Linked DNA regions of Homo sapiens: region 2 is linked to region 1. The links are contacts of gene promoters, found by promoter capture Hi-C in blood cells and fetal thymus (Javierre and others, 2016). All regions are on one chromosome and are shown on one strand. Each heading gives the region's core, a stretch centred on a gene start or on the middle of the fragment in contact. The rest is flanking DNA. Distances are from core to core; before and after follow the strand shown. Region 1 holds the start of EDNRB (endothelin receptor type B). Region 2 has its middle 7.8 kb from the start of EDNRB-AS1.

What was found. Contacts are between HindIII fragments. The CHiCAGO score rates a contact against its expected background, and 5 or more counts as called.
Region 2: a contact is called between a fragment that was not itself captured here and the fragment with the promoter of EDNRB in region 1, in 1 of 17 cell types (monocytes). The highest score is 5.3, in monocytes.

The regions. Positions count from the first base shown.
Region 1 is chr13:77,916,606-77,921,624 of GRCh38, forward strand. It overlaps EDNRB (endothelin receptor type B), which reads right to left and starts at 2,226. Exons shown (of 7, transcript NM_001122659.3): 1 at 1,486-2,226. The coding sequence starts at 1,968. RefSeq lists promoters at 2,155-3,227, 2,217-2,331 and a cis regulatory region at 2,583-2,592. The HindIII fragment of the contact is 2,812 bases long and covers 1,412-4,223 here.
Region 2 is chr13:77,808,877-77,813,458 of GRCh38, forward strand. No RefSeq gene overlaps it. Among named protein-coding and RNA genes, the nearest start is that of EDNRB-AS1, 7.8 kb to the right of the region's middle. The HindIII fragment of the contact is 567 bases long and covers 1,661-2,227 here.

The DNA of each region.
Region 1 (5,019 bases), core at 976-3,475:
TGGGTTAGGATTTTTAGAGATTTATGAAGGGAAATTTACAGGCATGCCTTATGGTAACTACTCCTGCCAATAGGTCAAAGCATTCCCTACAACATTTCCCAACTTTACATTCCATTTTTTTCCCCTTGTACTGAAGTACTGAAGTCAGGGCTAGCTATAGGCAAATCTGCAAAGCACAATTCCATTTCCTTACACTGTGATTGTGTTTTTATGTGCAACTTTCTATTGCTGCTGCTGCTGCTGCTGCTGGGAAAGTTTTAAATATTTTCATATGTCTTTGAAATTTTCCAACTGTTTTATTTAGACTGCTTTTTTTTTTTTAACACCATAAAGCCTCAGTAAGTGGGCACTGGCAGCCTTATTGTGGAATTGAGGAAACTGAGGCCCAGAGGTGCTGGGATGTGTCTGGAGTTCCAAAGCAACCTGGAGCAACCTGGCTCTTTGTGTGTTTCTACTGACGCCCATGGTAATCACACAATAATGTTAACTACCGAAACCCTTACAGATTTTGAGTGCTCCTTGGTCTTGTCCATGAAATAATTGATGGGGTGCCATCATATAGCTTGCACTTTGGAACCTGACAGATTGGGTCTGATCCCCAGCTCCACCTCTAATTCATTTACTTTGATCATCCTACCAGTCATCTGTAAACTAATTGTAATATCTACTTGTGGGCTGCTGGAAGGAATAATGGAAGTAACACATCTCACCCAGTCCTTGGCCCACTGTAGATATTTAATACAAAGTAGCTACAGTCCGTCACAGCAGGTGAACTGTGTTTTTCCTACTCACCAGTCTGGATCTCTTTTTTCCAGGCCATTTATTTCCTAAATACCTACTTTGTACCTGCTACTTTCAAAGTCTTCCAAAACAGTCCTTCCCAAAGTTAGTGGGCATATCAATCACATGAAGATCTTAAGATGCAGATTCTAACTTAGTAAGTCTGAGGTAGCCTTGCATTCCTAACAAACTCTCAGGTAATATTGATGCTGACTGTCCATGGACCACACACTTTTGACTAGAGGATGTACCCCATTAGGTGCACTTAGGGACTAGATCCTTCAGGACTAGTGGTTCTCAAACTTTACAGTTCATCATAATCACATAAAGGGCTTGTTAAAATACAAATTACTGTGCTCCACTCCAGAGTTTCTGATTCAGTAGGTCTGGGGTGAGGCCAGAAAAATCTTCATGTGCACCAAGTTCCCAAAGTGATACTAACATTGCTAGACTGGGGACTACGCTTGTCCTAAGCTTAGCAGAGGTCTACTGAAGACCTGAATGGAATTTTATTCCAATGGTTACTGACTTTTATGAGTGGACAGAACCAAATGGAATTTGGTTCCAAAGATTACTGACTTTTAGGAGGGGCAGAACCTTAAGAGGGAGCTAAAGGGAAGCTCCCTCTACAAGCTTTCTCATCTCCCCGTCTCCAACCAGGCCCCCTTCCTCAAGCCCACCATGATTTCAGCAGGCGCCCTTTACCTTGTAGACATTGATAGGGATGTCAATGACGATGTGCAGCAGGTCTCCCAGAGCCAAGCTGGCGATCAAGATATTGGGACCGTTTCGCATGCACTTGTTCTTGTAGATAATTCTCAGAAGTGTGGAGTTCCCGATGATCCCCAGCACGAACACAAGGCAGGACACAACCGTGTTGATGTATTTGAAAGTCTCCTTGATCTCGATGGGTCCTTGGCACGGGGGAGGGGAGATGGTGCGTGGCGGAGATCCTGCCGTCCTGTCTCCTTTAGGCACCTCCGCAGGTGCCAACGACCGCGCCAGACTGGCGTTGGAACCCTTGGGCCATAAGGTCTTAGTGGGTGGCGTCATTATCTCTGCGGTTTGCAAAAGCGGAGTGGCCCTGTCAGGCGGGAAGCCTCTCTCCTCTCCCCAGATCCGCGACAGGCCGCAGGCAAGAACCAGCGCAACCAGGGCGCGTCCGCACAGACTTGGAGGCGGCTGCATGCTGCTACCTGCTCCAGAAGGCGTCCGGTGGCCGCTCCGCAGTTTCAGAGCCTAGAGACAAGCAGAGGAAGGAAGACAGGACACTTGGGTCAGCTGCCCGAGCCAAGTCGCTGCAAACGCTAATACCGCCCGCAGCCTCTTCGCCAGTATCCACGCTCAAAAGTAACTCAAGTTTGCGCGCCAGTGGGAAACTTGGCGCTCATGACTCGCCAGCGCGGGTCGAAACTCCTTCCTGATGCCCTCTCAGCTGTTTTTCTTCCCCCGCGTGGCCAGGAGGGGTAAATAATATGCAGTGGGGCGGGGCGTTCTGGAAGGGGTGTGCCAGGGAGGGAATGATGGGGGTCCCAGGCAAAGCTCCGAACTCTTTCACGTAACGGGAGGAATACAGACACGTCTTAGTTAAGCGTGCGTGGGAACCGCGGAATTAAGGCACCTAGAGGCCAAGGGCTTGTGTCAAGCTCTGCATTTTGCCCCGCAGGGGAACCTCTATACCCCGCGATTGAACTCGAAAGACTCCTCCCGGCGGATGAAAGCCGCTACTCCCTGGCTGGCTGAGCTACAGCTCCCGCAGCGCGCCCAGGAGTGCGCCGGAGATTCGGAAACCCGCAGAGACTTCTCAAGTCAGCAGGAACTTGGAAACCGCTGTTCCCTCCAAACGGCTTCAAACACTCGCGCTCCTTCCTTTACCCAACCTAATTTTAATTTGCCCTCTCTATAGGCTTAATTTTTATTTTTTTAAAATCCCAAACTAGTAAGCCAAACCGAAGCCCCAGAATAAGGTTCAATCAATGATTTTAATTCAACACCAAGCCCGAATGTTTACCTCTCGGATCTGACAAACCAGATGCAGAGCGACGAATGGAGACCACCTTCCCGGGAGGCGGAACCCAGCTGGGTTCCAGCCTGCTCTGGGAGAGGAGCACGCCTCCCTTGAGCTGCAGGCGGGTCCGGCTCTGACGAAACGCTGCGAGAATGCCAGACAGTGTAGCCTCCACCGTTTGCTCGGGGTCTCTGCTGCCATCAGACAAGTACTTTTATTCATTCATCCCTTCCCATCAATCACCGCCAGACTCCTCCCGCGCCTTCCGACCCCGCTGCAACCTTTCCCCTTGGGCGATGCCTGGACAGCATCAGTAGTAGTTGCCCGAGGGAGGGGGGCAGTCCTCGTCCGGGGACAGGTCCCAAAAGGCTGTTTATTTGTTAGAGTTCTACGCTCTTCAAATGAACCCAAATCAAGGGCAAGTTATCACGCACCATGTGACACCCGGCAGCTCCAGACTAGAACAAGGCTCTGCACTGAACGTGATAATTGAACTTTTAATGCCAAGTGTCACTTTTCTTTCAGGTAAATGTTCCGCCGCTGTGATATTTAAGGTTGGTTTGTGGGCGCTGCTCTTTGCTCTGCTTCATTTTGCCCTGAAGTTTCATTTCAAGCCAACATTAACCCCAACACGGAACAGCTCGATCTTTTCTTCCCAGGCCCTCTCACTGCCCCGAGAGAGGATTACAAGTACTCCTCATTTTCCCCAGTACAGCTCTTCTCCTCTCTTCCTGCCACAGTATCGGTGTTAGGCAATCTCAGGCATTTTTATACTGTACCTATGACAGACTTGATGCTTATCGGAGACATGAAAATAATCAGAAAGCTGCCATGCAAATTCAACATGATATTTATTTACCAGGTAGAGCAATACAATAAGGTCTTTCTATCCATTCTTGAGCTCCATGTTTACCGCAGAGAGGAAAATAACAGCGACTGGTAGTTTTGCCCAGAGATTGTATAAAAGAGGTCAGGAAGTCAGGCTTGGAGATGCACTGGAGAGTACTGTGCCGTCCTCCAATCAGCAAAATCCCTACTGGATCTGTGGAACTTCAAACCCAGAAGCACCCATTCCATGTAGCAGTTTCACCCAGAGACAGGAGGCTCGTTTTTTGCTTCATGTTAGTTAATGGAATAGATGGGACAAGAACCTTGGATTTTTGGCTCTTAGGCAATGCTTTCTGGGACAGTGGAAGTAGAAAATCAATTTCTATTTAAAAAGGTGAACTTTAAGTGTGAAATGTGGTTAGGAACATGGTTACGGAGTAAGGCTAAAGGAATGAGAAATATGGTCTAGGGTTGTGAGTGCTAATTCCAAATCTGGCTATTTTGAATTGCAGTCCTTATCCTCCCTGTCTCGTAAGAACGAGGTCAACATTCAATTGCTGAGCCAAGTAACAATATACAATGTTGTCTGAATAAGGAATTATATGGAAGCTTTGGAATATGAATATTTTGCTTAGTTGACTCCACCCAGTGTTGGATCTGCCCTTCCTATACAAGCTTTGTTGGGTTCATGCCTATGGCTCCTGTGGGGTGACTTTTCTCTCTCCCCACTGGCCTTCTCATCATCTCCATCTCCATTCAAATTTCCTCCACTGAGTCCTGGAAGTCTGCTCTAATCCTCACTGAGGTCTATCTCTTTACTTTTCTTGGAGCACTTTTGGACTGTTAACCACAACTTAGCAAGCACTTGATCACATAAGAGACATCTATGGGTCACTATTGATTTCGTGTGACTTAATTTCTTTTACAGGACAGGGACTTGAATGAGTTATATGTTCTTTCTGCACCATCCCACTACCTGCCACAAAATGAGCTTAAGAAATATTTTTTATAAATTGATAATGATATTTTAAAGTATTCAGTTATACTTTATTAACTGGTCATTGGGCTCAAGAATAAGGCCAAACAATTTTAAGGTAAATATACACATTCCTCATTTGGAATTTAAAACACAGTATCAGCTACTCCTTACAGGGTCTACCACCTGCATTAGACACCTTTTCACAGTACCTCATTGATTCTCTGATGTTTGTCTTCCAGCTCTGTATTATTTTCTATGATGTTATAGGCAGTGAAACTGAGTCTCAGTAATTCACTTAAGGTCATGTGGCTAGTTAGTTGTGGGACCAGGATTTGGAGCTAGGATTTGAATGCATGTCTAAATGGTTACACAGACTATGCTTTTTATTATTGTAATTGCAGAAAGCCTAAGCAAATTTTTTTCT
Region 2 (4,582 bases), core at 694-3,193, 110 kb before region 1:
ATGGCAGAACTTAGGAATTTTAAGGTTTTTTTTTTCCCTTCTAAGAGTGGTAAACATAACCGTACGCAATCTCTTTTCCAATCTTTACTTAAAAATAGTACAACACAACAATTGACATTTACCACATATGACAACTGACTATATGCTGAATACAGAGCAAGTGACATATATATCTTCTCTCTTTCTCAAGCCTTCTGTCCCCACTCAACATAATCAGCCTCAGTGGCCTTCTTTCTGTTGTTTGATGGTAACAAGTGTGTTTCCATCTCATAACCATTGTATTTGCTAATGCCTTTACCTAAACCACGCTTCCCTCTCCTTCATATAACTGATGCTACTCATCACTTAGGTCTTAGCTCAATGTTACCTTCTCAACAAGACTCATGCAACCAATTTATCTATCACAGCCTTCATAGCATTTACTACTGTTTGAAATTATCTTGTTTGTTTATTGGTTACTTGTTTATTTTCTGTCTCCCCCCATAAGAATGTTCATTGAGAGGAGTAGGGCCCTTTCCTGTCTTGTCTTCTGTCCTATGTTCAGCATGTGGAATAGTTTGTTATACATAGTGTAGTAGCTACTCTACTGGTAGGATAAATGAATGAATTATCTCATCTAATATTTACAAAAAATATATTTTTTCTCACTTAAAAATGTGGAAATGGGAAAACTCAGGAAAGTTAAGTAATTTCCTTGTCATTGCAGAGCCAGTAAATGAAGGAATTTTGTGTCATTGGCTTTATCAGGTCTTCATAAGGCTCAGAATCTGTGTCTTCATTTTCATCCTCATCTTAGTCATGCCTTCATGAGAATCACCTTGGAGTGTGACTGACAGATAGGCTTAACCCTAGGACATTTAGCCATTCATTTATTTATACCCTGACATGCTCTATAGAAATTTAATGGATACCATTCTTGGTTGAATAAGTGGAAGAGTAGAAACATCCCAAGAGTAGATCAGATTAAAAATGTTGTATGAAGCCAGGCACGAGATCAGATTATACAAAATGCCTATGGGAATCTTTGTTGCATTTTCTAGGGGTGAGCTGCAATTTTGGCATTCCATTGTCTGGAAGAGGAAGAATAATTACAACGTTCACAGTATTCACAAGACAAGAACTAACCAGAGATTCAAAAGCAGAATAATGTTGGGACCCCAGAGAAGTATTCTTGGCTTTTCTCAGAAGGAAGAAACTGTGTGATGTGAGGAATAATATCCTCTACAGCATCTATATGGTAAATATCATCAAAATTTTCATGTTTTCCCTTATAATGTTATAGCACATATAAGCCAGAGTGGGTAAAACATAAACTTATAGGGACCCTAAAAATAATGTTATGAGAACCACCAAGAACAATTCTACAAGGACCCCAAAATGATGCTGTTTTGTTGTCTAGCTTGGTGCTGGGATGCCTTAGCCCAAAGGCTATATTTCAAATCATTTTTTGAAGGATCACATTTATATCAGGTCATAAATATTTTCTTTAACCAGGCTGATCAGTACTGATCAGGATTTGATGTGAAAAAGTACACACACACACACACACACACACACACACACACACACACACACAGAGAGAGAGAGAGAGAGAGAGAGAGAAACTTGAGCAACTACCTAGAGTGCAAAGACTCCAATAGTGGTTATATATGTCACCATAAGCTTTGACAGTGAAGCTCAGAATAAGCTAGTATACTTGGCATAGATCATACTTTAGATAGGACACATTTTTTTAAAATCATACTCTCTTCTACCACCTCGTGGCAGACTTGAGGCATTGAGCTGTCCCCTTGGCTTTCCATTTACGAATGGTGGCTTATTCCTGCCATAGTTTACAGAAAGTGAGACATTTAATTGTAACACTTCATTCAATCTCATGTAAGTAATGACTTAATTTTGTCTAAATTTATTGAATCACCTGGATGGCTTAAAGTATTAAATGGCCCTAATAATATTTCCTCACACAAGCAAGTCATTTTCAACAGTAGATTGATTGTACAAGATGGAAAACCTTTGGCTTGTCAAGCATATGTACAGTTGCTGGAAAATAAGTCAAAGAAACACTAATCACTTCATTTAGGAACTAATAACATCAGCCCCAAGGCTACAAGAGCCATTCCAATGGGGCTTCCTCTGTGAGGGGCACGTGATCTCTCTGAACTGGTAGTAGACTAGATTTCATCAGATAAGCTGTCAGATGCTTCATAGAACATGCCTTGGAGAATTAAGCTTCTACTGTTCATACAATTTTATCAGACACTAGCAAAGTAGATTTTCCAGTAAAACAGGAAATTGCCCTAAGGCTACGCTTTTGAACATTTATTCAAGATGTACTTTAAATGCTGTTTCAGCTGTCACTTCTTGCTATCGGCAGAAATGTTTTTGTTTTTGTTGTAGGTGAACAGTTCTCTTTAATCACCAAAATCAACTAAAGTGTGGAGAAAACAAGAGCTGTAAAATTAGAGCGTTTGCAAGACAGGTTGAGGATAGGTAGTTTTTGACACAAAGGCAATTCGAGCTCATTTGGAACTATGTTTGGGACTCTGAATTGGCAACAAAGAAACTTATGTTTCTTTTAATAACTTAATAAATATACTATATTATCACATATAAAGAGGCAGTATATAACACAGCGATTAAAAGCATATACTCTGAAGCCAGGCTACTTGCTTTCAGATGTCAGTTTCAACAATTCAACTTTTGGGCTTTGGACAGATTACTTCACTGCTTTGTTCCTCCATTTCCTTATCTGTAAAACAGGAATAATTACATAACCCATAGGGCTGTTGAGAAGAGTAGTTCTAACACTTAGAAAGCATTATATAATTATATGTACATTATATATTATTGTTATTATAGTACTCTATAAAATCTGTAAGGGATCACATGAAAAATAGACTGTAAACATATTGATTCTATATAGTAAAATATCAGAATTAATAACTTTTGAAAGGAATATCAATATAACACTTTAAGAACTGATATAAAATTTTCAATTTTGTTTAGGAACAGGATGTATATCTCAGAAATATGGAATGAATGAACATATAGCAAATGAAACAGTCAATTTTCAATGAGTGAAATGCAGGACAATGATAACCTTCACATCTTTCACTAAGAAATAACCTCCTAGTAGATGGTACATACATATAAAATATCTTATTATGCAAATATCTTTATCATAACCAATAAATGAAAAAATACAGTTATTTCCCATTTTATTATTTGTGAATCCAAACCAGAGTCTCAGGAAATGACTAGTTGATCTCATGTGGTACTCATGTGGTCTTCTACTTTCTTCTAATCTGAGAATAGAAGAACCATTAATGTCTTTTGCCTCAAGTCATTTTTGAGGAGAATAAGTTCATTTCCTTAGTATAGGAAAAGAAAATGAAGTTGGCTCCTTGACACTTGTCTTAAAAGGCAAACCTAATATTAAATTGTAGTCCAAATCTTTAAGTTTTTTCTTGCTGAAGAAGCAAACTGCCTTAGTGCACTTCATTGACCAGTATGGATAACACAAGCAACACTGACTTCTAAATGCTTGGCTATTGGCATGAAGCAATGAATGTTACAAAGTTATAATAAGAGGAAATGTATAACAGACACACTAAAGAGATACATTGTGTGAAGTGTCATTATCTCAAAGAATGCTTTCCATTTTGTTAATTACACATAACTTCAAGGTAGCCATTAATACAATTAATTGAAGGAGACTATTAATACAATACAATTATAATTAAAAATTTGAATACTTTCTTATTTTACTAAGCTGTTATAGTTATTTTGGTACTTGTTACCAAGCCCTACAAAATTATACATGGAATAAAGAGTGAACCAATTAATAACTGATGTTTATTAAGCTTGAGCTTTGGGTCATTTTAGTCTCAGTGGCCCCATGAAGTTCACACAATGCTCCTTATAAAATGAGAAATCAGGAATTGATTTTCATAATGCTACAATGTATAGGGGAAATTAAATGGACCAAAAATATACAACAGATGGTTAGATGTTTCCCAATCTCATTCCCTCTTCTTGGGCTGGTAGGAAGACTGTTTCCCAGCCCTTGTGGTAGCTAGGCTGGACCGTGTGACTATATTATGGTCACTTGGTGATCACATGTGACACGTCTTCACTCTGGGCCTTTTCATAAACCTCCCTCCATATCCTCCATGTTCTCATTTCCTCTTCTTGTGCTGACTACAGAGACCATTTGTTAAGAATGTAAGAGTCGGCCGGGCGCAGTGGCTCACGCCTGTAATCCCAGCACTTTGGGAGGCCGAGGCAGGCGGATCATGAGGTCAGGAGTTTGAGACCAGCCTGACCAACATGGTAAAACCCTGTCTCTAGTATAAAAAAAAATACAAAAATTAGCTGGCTGTGGTGCTGCACACCTGTAGTCCCAGCTACGTGGGAGGCTGAGGCAGAAGAATCGCTTGAACCCAGGAGGTAGAGGTTGCAGTGAGCCGAGATTGTGCCACTGCACTCCAGCCTGGGAACCAGCCTGGGCGACAGAGTGAGAATCCATGAAAAACAAACAAACAAACAAACAAAAACAATGTAAGAGTCCTGGAGTCATGGC